Linked DNA regions of Homo sapiens: all the other regions are linked to region 2. Evidence: promoter capture Hi-C in human tissues and cell types (Jung and others, 2019). All regions are on one chromosome and are shown on one strand. The core of a region is centred on a gene start or on the middle of the fragment in contact, and the rest is flanking DNA. Distances in the headings are between cores, read along the strand shown. Region 1 overlaps NPSR1-AS1 (NPSR1 antisense RNA 1). Region 2 holds the start of NPSR1 (neuropeptide S receptor 1). Region 3 overlaps NPSR1 (neuropeptide S receptor 1).

What was found. The method cuts DNA at HindIII sites, captures the fragments that hold promoters and counts their contacts. A contact is called where the count stands out against the background at its distance.
Region 1: a contact is called between a fragment that was not itself captured here and the fragment with the promoter of NPSR1 in region 2, in 2 of the 25 tissues and cell types used here (small bowel and stomach).
Region 3: a contact is called between a fragment that was not itself captured here and the fragment with the promoter of NPSR1 in region 2, in 4 of the 25 tissues and cell types used here (adrenal gland, aorta, liver and 1 more).

What each region holds. Positions count from the first base shown.
Region 1 is chr7:34,613,297-34,617,466 of GRCh38, reverse strand. All of the region lies in intron 2 of NPSR1-AS1 (NPSR1 antisense RNA 1), which reads left to right. Among named protein-coding and RNA genes, the nearest start is that of NPSR1, 43 kb to the left of the region's middle. The HindIII fragment of the contact is 3,781 bases long and covers 810-4,170 here.
Region 2 is chr7:34,656,670-34,661,006 of GRCh38, reverse strand. NPSR1 (neuropeptide S receptor 1) reads right to left here and starts at 2,789. Exons shown (of 9, transcript NM_207172.2): 1 at 2,448-2,789. The coding sequence starts at 2,594. All of the region lies in intron 2 of NPSR1-AS1 (NPSR1 antisense RNA 1), which reads left to right. RefSeq lists an enhancer at 1-750. The HindIII fragment of the contact is 11,658 bases long and covers 1-4,337 here.
Region 3 is chr7:34,706,143-34,710,008 of GRCh38, reverse strand. The region is part of intron 2 of NPSR1 (neuropeptide S receptor 1); the gene reads right to left. The region is part of intron 2 of NPSR1-AS1 (NPSR1 antisense RNA 1); the gene reads left to right. Among named protein-coding and RNA genes, the nearest start is that of NPSR1, 50 kb to the right of the region's middle. The HindIII fragment of the contact is 4,572 bases long and covers 1-3,866 here.

The DNA.
Region 1 (4,170 bases), core at 1,451-3,950, 43 kb after region 2:
CCACCTCTCTGGCTCAAGGGATTCTTTTGCCTCAGCCTCCCAAGTAGCTGGGATTAGAGGTGCCCGCCACCATGCCCGGCTAATTTTTGTATTTTTAGTAGAGATGGGGTTTTGCCATGTTGGCAGGCTGGTCTCGAACTTCTGACCTCAGGTGATCCACCCGCCTCAGCCTCCCAAAGTGCTGGGATTACAGGCGTGAGTCACCACGCTTGGCCTGATACTGTCCTCTGATGCACAAAATTTTTAAAATTTTTATGAAGTCCAGTTTGTCTATGTTCTTTTGTTGCCTATGCCTTCGGTGTCATATCCAAGAAATCATTGTCTAAGCCAATGTCGTGAAAATTTTGCCATATGTTTTTCTAAAAATTGTATTGTTTTAAGTCTTACATTTGGGTTTTTGATCTATGTTGAATCAATTTTTGTATATGTTGTTAGTAATGGTCCACTTTCATTTTTTTTGCAGGTGGATATACACTGTTCCAAGCAGCATGTGTTGAAAAGATTTGTCTTTTCCCCATTAAATGGTCTTGGTACCTTTCTCAAAAATTGACCATATATGAGTGGATCATATATTTATTTCCGGGCTCTATCTTCTATTCCATTGGTCTATATATATGTCTGTTTGTTTGCCAGTACCACACTGTTTTAATTATTGTAGATTTGTAGTAAGTTTTGAAATCAGCTGTTTTTTTTTTTTTTTCAAGATTGTTTTGGTTATTTGAGATTACTTGAGATGTCTGGTAAGTTTTAGGATGGAGTTTTGTAATACTGTGAAAAATGTCATTGAGATTTTAACAGGGATTGCATTGAATCTCTAGGTCACTTTGCCTAGTATTGGCTGCTAGTATTTCAATGAGGGTTTTTGCAACAACATCTGGAACAGATATTGAATGTAGTTTTCTTTTCTGTCTAGTAGTGTCTTTGTCTGGCTATAGCATCGGGGTAATGCTAATCTCACAGAATAATTTAGGAAGTGTTCTCTCCTTACTTTTCAGAAAAGTTTGAGAAGGATGGTATTAGTTCTTCTTTAAATGTTTGGTCACATTCACCAAATCTTCTTAGTAGTTATAAGTCTATTTAGATTTTCCATTTCTTCATGATTTATCTTGGTATGGTTTATGTTTCTAGGAATTTGTCTATTTCATTAGGTTATACAATTTGTTGGTATAGAATTTTTCATAGTACTACATTACAATCCTTTTTATTTCTGTAAAATCAATAGTAATGTCCCATTTCCATTTCTCATTTTAGAAATTTGAGTCTTTTCTTAGTCCATTCAGCTAATGATTTTTTAATTTTGTTGATCTTTTTGAATAACCAACTTTTGGTTTAATTGATTTTCCCTGTTATTTTCCTTTTCTCTATTTCATTTATCTCTGTTCTAATATTTATTTTGTCTTTCCTTCTACTAGCTTTTGTTTAATTTGTTCTCCTTTTTCCATTTTTTAAGTCATAAAGTTTGGTTGGTGATTTGAGATCATTCTTATTTTTTAGTGTGGGCATGTATAACTTTAAATATTGCCCTTAGCGTGGTTTTCACTATGTTCCATGCATTTTTGGCATGTTATGTTTTCATTTTCATTCGTCTCTAAATATCTTCTAATTTCCTTTGTAATTGATGCTTTGATTCATGGTTGATTAAGAGTGTGCTGTTTAATTTCCACAAATTTGTGCATTTTCCAGTTTTAATTATATTAATAATTTCTGACTTCATCCCATTGTCATCAGAGAAGATACTTAGTATCATGTCTGTCTTTTCAAATCTACTGTGATTTTATCTGTGACCTAACATATAAATGTCCTATATGCACTTGAGAAGAATGTGTATTTTTTTTTTTTCCTTGGGTAGTGTTCTGTATTTGTCTGTTAAAACTAATTGGTTTATTGTGTTGTTTACATCCTCTGTTTTCTCACTTATCTTTCATCTGATTGTTCTATCAGTTTTTGAGAGTACAGTAGTGAAATCTCCAACTATTATGGTAGAACTGTCTACTTTTCCCTTCAATTCTTTTGCTTTATATATTTCTATGCTACAGTCTGTCATTAGGTGTGTATAGGTTTATAATTATTATATATTCTTGCTATATTGCCATATTAAGTCTTTGATAATGTCCTTCTTTGTCTCTCATAATCTTTTTAAATTTAAAGTCTATTTTGTCTGATATTAGTATAACCACCTCTTCTCTCTTTTGGTTACTATTTGCATGAAATATAATATTTGATCCTTTCACTTTCAACTTATTTGTGTCTTTGGATGTAAAGTATCTCTTGTAGACAGCATATAGTTAGATCATGTGTTTCTTTAAAAATAATCCATTCTGTCAATCTCTGTTTTTTATATGGAAAGCTTAATCCATTTACATTTAAAGTAATTACTAATAAGGAGGGACTTATTTCTGTCATTTTGCTATTTTTTTATGCTGCTTAAAGGTTTTGGATGCTTGACTTTTCTGTTCCAATGCTCTCTATGAAATACTGCACATATATGCAGAATTTTAAAAAGAAGATTTGTGGTTTCTCTTGAGAAGACATAAAGGTATAATGTTCAGAAATCCAGATTCTTTGTTTGGACTCTATGGGCCTGTATAAGCATCAATGACTGACTGCTAACATGTTGCTGACTACTGATTTTCTCATACTCTTTGCTCTTTACTATTATTTGCTATGTATCTGCCATAACTCTCAAAACCTTTAATGACCTCGAAAGTTCTCCAGTAAAACTATGTGATATTTGTATAACCTGTTCTAACTTTCTGTTTAGAAAAATGAACCATATCTGCATTATTGCACACTTATCCCTTGACATAAATGTCTTAATCAAAATAAACAAAAATACTAGCTATTATAATTGCCTATGCATTTACCTTTATTACTATCTTTACTTCTTCATCTAGCTTTCAGTTTTGTCTGATGTCATTTCATTTCACCTTGCAGGACTCCCTTAAGCACTACTTGCAGAACATTTCTACTGGTGACAAACTCCCTCAGTTTTGCTTATCTGGGAATGCCTTAATTTCTGCTTCACTTTTGAAGGACAGTTTTGCCAGATACAGGATTCTCGGTTGACAGCTTTTTTGTTTGTTTGTTTGTTTGTTTTTTAGTACTTTGAATATATTGGCTGACTGTCTTCTGTTTACCAAAGTTTCTGATGACAAATATGCTGATAATATTATTGAGGATCCTTTATATGTAACCAGCTACTTCTCCCTTGCTGCTTTTAGGATTCTTTCTTTGTCTTTGTATTTTGAAAGTTTGATTACAATGTGTCTCAGTGTGAATATTTTTTTAGTTCATCTTACTTGGTGTTTGTTGAGCTTCTTGAATGTTTTTATTTATGTCTTTATTCACTTTGGGGAAGTTTTCAGTCATTATTTTTGCAAATATTCTCTCTGTTCCTTTCTTGTTCTTATGGGACCCCTACAATGCATATATTGGTCCACTTGATGATATCCCAGAGGACCCTAGGCTCTGTTCATTTTTCTTTAATCCTTTTGTTTCTCATACTCAATAATTTTTATTGTCCTATCTTCAAGTCCTCTGATTCTTTCTTCTACCTGCTCAAATCTGCATTTGAGTCTCTGTAGTAGATTTTTCATTTTAGTTATTATACCTTTAAGCTTCAGAATTTCTCTTTGTTTTCTTTTTAAGTTTTGTCTTTATTAATATTTGAACTTATTCATACCTTGTTTTCTTGACTTTCTCCACATCTTCCTTCAGTTATTTGAGAATCTTTAAGACATTTTTGTTAAAGCCTTTGTCTGGTAGATTTGTCATCATGTCATTTTTAGGGACAGTTTCTGCTTCTTTGGCATGTGCCATATTTCCTGTTTCTTTGTATGCCATGTAATTTATTGTTGAAAAGTGGGTATTTGAATCTAATAATTTATCTAATTATTGTAACCTCATAAATTATCTAATAGCAAATCAGATTCTCCCTCTTCCTCAGGGTTTGCTTTTTAAAAAGTTGTTCATTGTTTTGCTTTTTGGGTTGTCATTGACTGTATTTGTGCCAATGATTAGCTTGAGGTGTAAACTTAAAATATTTTCAGGCCTTTCTGAGTCTGCAGTTTTCTCTAAACATGCATGATCCCTTTCCAATTTTCCCTGTATATGTAGTTGTTTCTCAGTATCTTAGTGTTTCATGTCTGGCTCCAAAAGTTGGAAAAAGAA
Region 2 (4,337 bases), core at 1,540-4,039:
GGCATTCATTTTACTCAAGGAGCTTGAGGACTGTAACACATTCAGCCAACACATATGGAAATAGCAGTTTAAGACAGAACTGCATTAAGTGGCAAGAAGAGAGGTACAGTCCGTGACACTAATGAAGCTCAGGGAGGGATGAGTCAGGGAGGGATGAGTCAAGGAGGGCTTCATGGAGGAAGCAACCCAAGCTGAGCTTTATAGACTGGGTAAAATTGAGATAAACAGATGAAGATGGAAGGCAGGACCGGAAGGAAAGATACACCATGGATTGTGAGAATTAAATGAGATACTTCACAGAAGTCACTTGCTAAGTGAGTCTTGCTATGACTCTTGGCACCAAGAATGCCCAAAGTAAATGAGACGTATGGTTGTTGCTGTTATTTCTGTGACTTTTACTGCTGCTGCTATTTTTATTTTCATGCTATTTTTTTTACTGCTTTTGATGAAGGCAATGGGGATTAAAGGGGATACATCTGGGAGACAGTAAAGGGAGCATGGTTTCGAATTTCTTCTCTAGAAGTATGTCAGATAAAATGAATTGCAGTGAACAAGGGCTTGCATTGGAACTATTTCTGTATCAACAATGCATTAGAATTGCTTGTGCCCAAAGGGGATCATAGAAAAAAAGTTACACTAAGAAATATAAGCTAAGTTCTCACAAATACCACCAGTAATCACTGTGTAACTAAAAATCACAGGGTTTTAGTCAATACACGTATCTCTCAAATAATGAATCTGAGCATTCTAAGCTCCTGGCCAAACACAATTCCTGTCTTTCTGCTTTTCTCCTTGTCCAGTGGTCCAGCCGTTTTGCTGCAAACATATCAATAGGAATCAGCTAGAGATGCTGTGATTCTCTTTAGTGTCTGGCGATGATGTTGCTAGGATAGAGAGGACAAACACTCATAGAGAGCAAGGTGGGATTTGTTTCTTCACATATTCCAAATATCCCTGTAGGTGCTATATTCAAAAAATGGCAAATGAGATTTCAGCTGAGATTGATTCTTGCCAGAGTCTCAGAATAACCACCTTATTGCTGATTTTATTCCCTTTGCAATGGAGGGCCTCTCTTCATTCTGCTTGCTATCATGTTCTAAGAATATCAAAGAGGCTACACAGGCAGCAATACTGAGTGGAGTCCTGTGCTTCCTGGGTGCACACAGCCTGCCAAGACAGACTCTCTGGGTCTGCAGGCTGATTTCATAAAGGGGATTATTCAGTCGACATTAAGTGGCAACAAACTCTAATTTTACTTTCTAAGCTACATCGTGGAGCTGTGCAGCTGGGCTGCGTATGTGCATATGCATTAGGAGGTGATTCCAAGGGACAGGGTTTCACTGAAGCCAGTGGAGGAGTAGTTTGCTCAGGTTCTGCTTTGCTGCAGGATCATTAGGGCCCTGGAAGTTTAAGTCTGACTCCTGGGACAGCACCCTGCTGAAAGTTTTATTCTGAATATTTGCAAAAGAAGTGAACTTCCAGTAGGGAGGTGGATGTTACAGTAATGCTATCTCATTGTGTAAAAACCAAATCATTTCAAGAACATACAGAGGATTAACAACAACAACAACAACAAAACCCAACAAAGCAACAACTAGAATCTTTTTGAAGTATTTTTTCTTCAGTGGAAAGGACCAGTTTGAGACCTGTGAATTATTGCAATGACTAAACATATCGTTAGACAGGTGTGAAATAACCTGACAACCCAGCATTCTGAGGCAAGAAGCAGGAAACTGTTCTTTTCCCAAATGTGCGGTTCATTTCTGTCCACAAGATCTTGTTGCGGAATAAGAAACAATACAGTATTAGCTTAATGAAGATCCTTCCTCAGTGTGGCCCTTGGATACTTTGAAGGTGAAACTCACCAAACTCTCTGTCCTTCATTTGTTCTAGGAGGTAATTTGTTGCAAATGGTGGCATCATCAACTACCCTCAAAGAAATATATTCCTCACTGATGTTTAATGAAAAGGATCATCAAAGAAAGTGTCGTCCTTCCTGCCTTATTCAATGTTGTTTCTCATCATATCAGTCACTGTCCTGGGGATTGTGAGCTTTCCGCATCTCTGGTGTTCCTAGCAAAAAACTCATAGCTCTAACCCCTACTAGAAACAGACATTTCAAGTACTGCTATAGGATTAATTAAAAGTGCTTTCACCTAAGGAAAGGGGGAAAGTAAAAATCATCCACTCATAAATGTTACTCACGATTCACACATTTCCAGCAGCATCAGAAAGAAAAACGTCACCTGTATTCCTAAGAAACTACAATCTAGGTCTCTGCACACTACAGCTTGTTGTTTTAGCACTTCAGACTTTTAAAAATCCTTTTTAGTAAAGAAAATAACACTCATTCACAATACTGGCTATGATACTTCAATTGACACTCTTAAGTTCCAGCAGTCTCATTGTTATAAGTCAGTGTTCAGAGTCGCAGGCAAGAAACTTACCTTAAAGGAGTAGTAGAAGGAACCCCATTCCTTTCCTTCCACCACTTCAGTAAAAGTCACTGTTTCAGTGCAAGCCACTGGGGAAGAATCCAGCGTCTGCCCGGTCCCACTGGAATCGAAGCTGCCCTCTGTGAAGTTGGCTGGCATGGCTCAGGCGGGGTTGAGCCTCACTGTCCTTGCTCCTGCAGCTGAGTGAGGGAGTCCAGCTTGCCTCCTGAGAGCTGGGCAGCAGCTGCAGCTCTGCTGAACGGAGGCACAGAGCCCTCCCTGAGCCCACCTCACTGAAGAGCTCTGCCTGATGACAGGGAGGATCTACGTGCTGCTCTCTCCTTGGCAATTACCACCAGGTAGCCAGCATAGCACAACCCTCATCACCCCACAGTCCCACCCAGGGCCAGGGCCCCACCCCAAGAGCAAGGTGGAGCTCCCCATAGCCATCGACATGGCTCCCTGGATGAGACCCCTGTTCTGTTTTGCTTTTCCTTACTTCCACGGTGGACCCCCACTTCTGCTCCAGCTTCAACAATAAAGGAATTTGGACTAATCAGTAGGTGCATGAATTCGGGTCATGTTTCCACTTCTGAAATCAAATTATAATTATGCATTTGTTTCAGCTGAGGTTGCTTTCTGACTTAAAGCCTCACCTTGCCATCTACTGTGTCATGTGCTCTTATTTCCGTAAGTGTAGGCAAATAGTACGTTTGTATTTCACACCCTTAGTTCTATCTAGGTGTTCACAGGGCGGTTCTCAGAGAAACATGAGGTCTGTGTTTGTCAATAAGCTACAACACCTTGTGATATGACTGGGAGGGGCCTGGTGAAGATTCTTACTGCTTTCAGTATATTCACCTCAGCTTCTACCTAGGACCAATACTCAGGGCGAGGGTAGAAAGGAGGTAATGCAGCATCCTGGGCACCACAGACAGGGCTAGGCGAGAATACTAACAGCTATTCCTGTTTCACAAAAAACCTGCAAAGCACATTTACACGTTCTTTCATTCAGTTTCCCAAACAACCTTGTGAGATAGGCAGGGAAGGTATCTTTATGTTCTCCTTTATGCTAGCAGAGAGTGGCTCCAATAGGTGAAATGACTTGCCCAAGATCCCGCAGCTGCTGATGTAAATGAGCTGATAACCCATCTCCAGAACTTCCTAGACAGTGGTGCTTTTACTGTAACAGACTGGTTTGCATCAAATCTCAAATGTCTATGGGGCATGAAGGTAACATGAATGAGGGTAGCAGGCCAGGTATAAAACAATGGGAACTAAGCTGCTTATATGACAACCAAGCACAATACCTGATTCCTCACATTGAGAACACTCTGTGAACCAACCAGGTCCAGCCACTGGTTTATGGCACCTGGAATAAGAGGTAGTAGCTTTAGTGGCCACCACTAAAGAACCTGGCCCCCATGAGATCTCCTGGGGAAGCTTTATTATAAACCATCGAGCCCCAAGGAGGGCACAGTGCTCTAGCAATGAGAAGGCATTGAGTCTATAATGAAGGGCAGCAAACAGAAGTGAGTTGTGTAGAAAACTGGATAAGCTGTGGACTCTTAAGGAAAGGTTCAAAACAGGACAACAACTCAATAGCAAAACAAGTGCAGCATATTCCAACTAACAAATGAGTATGAAGATAGGCTCAACCATATTAAAAATTAAGGAAAATAACTAAAACCAGTAAGAATGTTTACCTATTATTATAGTGAAAGCTAGCGTGTGGCTATCCCCAAGTGCTGACAAGATTGAAGGGAAACGGGTGTACATCTTTACTTCTGGTGAGAGTTAGTTGATGTGGTAATTTTTGAAAAGCAATTCAGCAGTATTTAGTAAAGCTGGAATTACATATCCTCTAATGCATTGTTCCATTTCTAGATGCTAATAATTTTT
Region 3 (3,866 bases), core at 593-3,092, 50 kb before region 2:
AGCTTTAAGAATTTTTGGAAGCAGCAGGAAATCAGCTGATTTCCAGGAACTAGCCCAGAAGGTGCTGATAATCTCACGTTTGCCATCTGCTCATGTTCTGTTAGCCCTGCTACAGAAGAATAATGGTTTCTCCTTCTCATCTTTTTTTTTTGGTGGATATTCTGTCATAATGCTTAGTAGAGTGTTAGGACATATAAATATTTTTATATTCATCTTTCATTCATTCATTTGGTTCATTCATTGCTTCAACAAATATTAATTGAATAACTACTGTTCTAAGTTCTTGGAGAATAAAACAAAGATCCCTGTCTTATAGTGAGGTTAGGCAAACAATCAGTGGTAAATTCAATAAATAAGTAAGTTATAGTAGAATAGAATGTGACAATTGCTGTGAAAAAGGGAAAAGTGAAGCAGAGTAAAGGAAGTCAGGAACGCTGTGGTCTGGGGCTGGTGGGCTCTATTCATCAGGTTGGTCACAGAAGGCCCCAAAAGAAACTGACATTTGAAGAAAGATTTGAAGGACATGAGGGAGTTAGCTATACAGACTATGTCTAGCTTCTGTCTGTGCAACAGTGACCATACTGTTATTGTCCAAGAACAGTAAGCCAAAGAAACCTGAATTAAGAGTCACTGGAAGTTGTAAAACTCTTAATTATTAAAATTGAGAACAGGTAATAATTATTAATGTTAAGAGTTTTTGGCAGAGTTCAGTCAGAATGGAGTCAGTAATTGCTGAGCAAGGGCACAGTTGCACAGGACCAAGTTGTGGTAGCTGTATTTTGTCACTCTATTCCTGGGGATCCTAAAAGTGTAACCTCCCCCAGGGACTCCTGAGAAACGTAATGAGGCCGCCAAATTCTCAAAAGTGTTTTGAACAGATACTTAGTTACTCTCAAGCCTCTTGAGGAGAAGAATGACCCTGCAACTCCTGGCTCCTTATTCCTTTTTCCCTCACAGGCAAGATGGTGGAATTCAAAAGGAAGATCAAGCTGGTTACAATTCAGCTAGAAGACCCTGGGGAGGCCACTTACCCTCTCTGAGCCTCATTATCCTCTCCTAGAAAATGGGAATATTTACCTCAAAAAGCTGGTGCAAGGGTGAAAGCAATGATAACTTTAAAGGTCCTGAAGTTTACTGCTCACCACTCACCTTCCTATGTGAATATCAGGGAGGGAAACACAATTGCAATTTATTTGATCTGTGTACAATCCCCTGAGTTGAATGGGATAGGCTAAATGTATAACTTCATAACTACTACTTTTCTCAGGCAGTGTTAAAATGTTTTTAATACTCAAAGATATTCAAAAGGTTTCCAATACTTGGGCAGAGGCATCTTCTGACCTGCTTTGGAATCTAGGCGCTGACTGCCAGGTGCCCCAATCCCAAAGCCCTGAGAAAAATCTAATTTTTCCTTCCTCTAACTATAAGCTCCAGCATGTTTGGGACTCTGTCGTTTTCCCTCATAGCATTTGCACTGGACGTTGGGATTACCTCCCCAGCATCTATTTCTCCTGCTTTTGTTAAGTACCCTGGCTTTCAGTTGAAGTATCCATCTTACCTGTTCAGCCCATGTGTTTTGGGGAAGTCTGAATTTTCAGGAGTGAGACATTTGACTTCAGCCTAAGCTCATCAGTGTAATTGCATGTCTTGTTCCATGGATTAGTTCAAATATGACCCTATAACTTAGTTATGTCAGTGAGGCACATGCACAGGCTTGTCAAGCCCTGCTGGGAAGGGTTCCTTCCTATATTTCTAATAAAACTTGCAGAAATCACATTTTATCTCTTTGCATGTGGAAGAGAGTTCCCATGAGTTACTAGCAGGCATTTGTTATGGGCTGAATTGCATCTCCCCTAAATTCATATGTTAAAGTCCTAACCTCCAGTCCTTCACAATGTGACATGCTTAGAGATAGGGACTTTAAAGAGATAATGAAGAAAAAAAGATGAGGTAATTCTGGGTGGGCCCTAATCCAGTATAACTGGTGGTGTCCTCATAAGAAGAGAAGATTAGGATACAGACATGGACAGAAAAAAAGCCATGTGAAAAAAACGGAGAAGACAGCCATCTACAATCCAATGAGAAAGGCCTCAAAATAAAATTAGCCAACACTTTGATAGAGGACTTCTAGCTTCTAGAACTGTGAGAAAGTAAATTTCTGTTGTTTAAGCTGCCCAATCTTTGGTATTTGTTACGGCAGTCCCAGCAAACTAATACAGCATCCTATAACCAGCCTTGGGAGCAAGGCTTAGGATGAGACTTCTCCTCTGCCCTCTACCACTGCTGCATTGCTGAGGCAAATAAAGTCTAAAGCTTACTCTATCACTGAGCTTTCGATGATGAAAGCAAAATTATCCTTTTTATTGCTTTATTATTTTACCTGTAATTTGTAATCAAATCCACTGTGGGTCCTTAGCACCTGGAACCATGCCTCGCCATAGTAAGTGGTTAATACTGTTTGTTGAATTACGAAAGCAAAGCAGGAGTAAATAATCACAGTATGGAATTGTCCTAAGTTGACTGTGGAAACTGAGTGAGGCAGGGAACAACAGGAGAATGGGAGTCAGCTTGTTACTATAGTCTATTTTCTACATTCCTTCTGCATGGGCCAGAAGCCAGCTATTTCTATTATTAAGTGACAAGCTGATTCATAAAGGTGACTGACACTCATTACAGCAAAAGTTGTTTAATTAGTTGGCTTCTGAAGATGTAAGAATCCCCCTCAACTTTTGCAGTTGGAAATTTCTAATTAGAATCAAAGGACCATTAGAACCAGATCAGTTCTGGCTTCCTAAAGATCATGGAGATAACCCTTGTAATTTTAGAAATGAGAAAATGAAGGTTTAACAAGGGTAAATGCCTTTCCCAGGTCACATATTGTGCTCTGAAGCAAAGGCATGGAATATAAAGAAACCCAATTTTTCTAAGAAAGAAAAAGCTTTACTGGGAGAACAGTTATTCTTTTTAGTTGAATTATTCACATAGCGATAGGACAATGCCATTTTTTCTCCTGTTTGAGAGAAACTGATTTTCTCAATGAACATGGCCCACCCAGCTCTTCTTGGTGGAGGAAACAATGATGGCATTGTGCAGCTAGTGTAGGAATAATCCAAATAAAAGATATGTGCATTTATTCAGATGTTAGCCAATTAAAAAACTTTCAGTAGATGGGTGAAACATATGAGACAGAGAGAGATTTCCTAGCATTGAGTTAAAAAGAGCACAAAAATATCAGAAAAAGAATATATATTCAAAAAAACTTTAGCTCAAGAAACCCTGAAATTTTAGCGCATATTTTGCATTCTTTTTACATTTTGGGGACACTTTGACAGTATGGAATTAAAGGTGAAAGACGAGATAATAAGACATTAGATAGGTTGTGAGAAGGGAAACACCAAGAAGCTGACAGAAATAAAAAGGCACCAGATAATACAAAGGAAGAATGTTTTAAAACTTTTCATAGACAAAGCAACCTTTAAGATACTTCAGAAACAATAAAAAGTAGAATTAGCACTGCTAATCATTGAATCAAAATCAAATTATTGATTAATAAAGTATAAATTATTCTTCCCACGTAGAAGAATAGGACCAAGATATTTAAATGATGACAGAAAGGCCAAAATTACTAACATATAGACAGACAGTTAGAGTTCCTGAAGATAAGATTAAAATAAATGGTAAGTAATCTGTATTCAAAGACATAAAGAAAATAACCTACGAATTCACATTAATCAGCAGATCAAAAGAGCATATGGCAGCTCAGAGAACTCACATAACAGACGACCAAAAAATAGACATAACCTGGTGAAAGCATGAAATCTAAAAAAAAAAAAATCAGAAACAAAAGACAAAATTGGATAACCTAT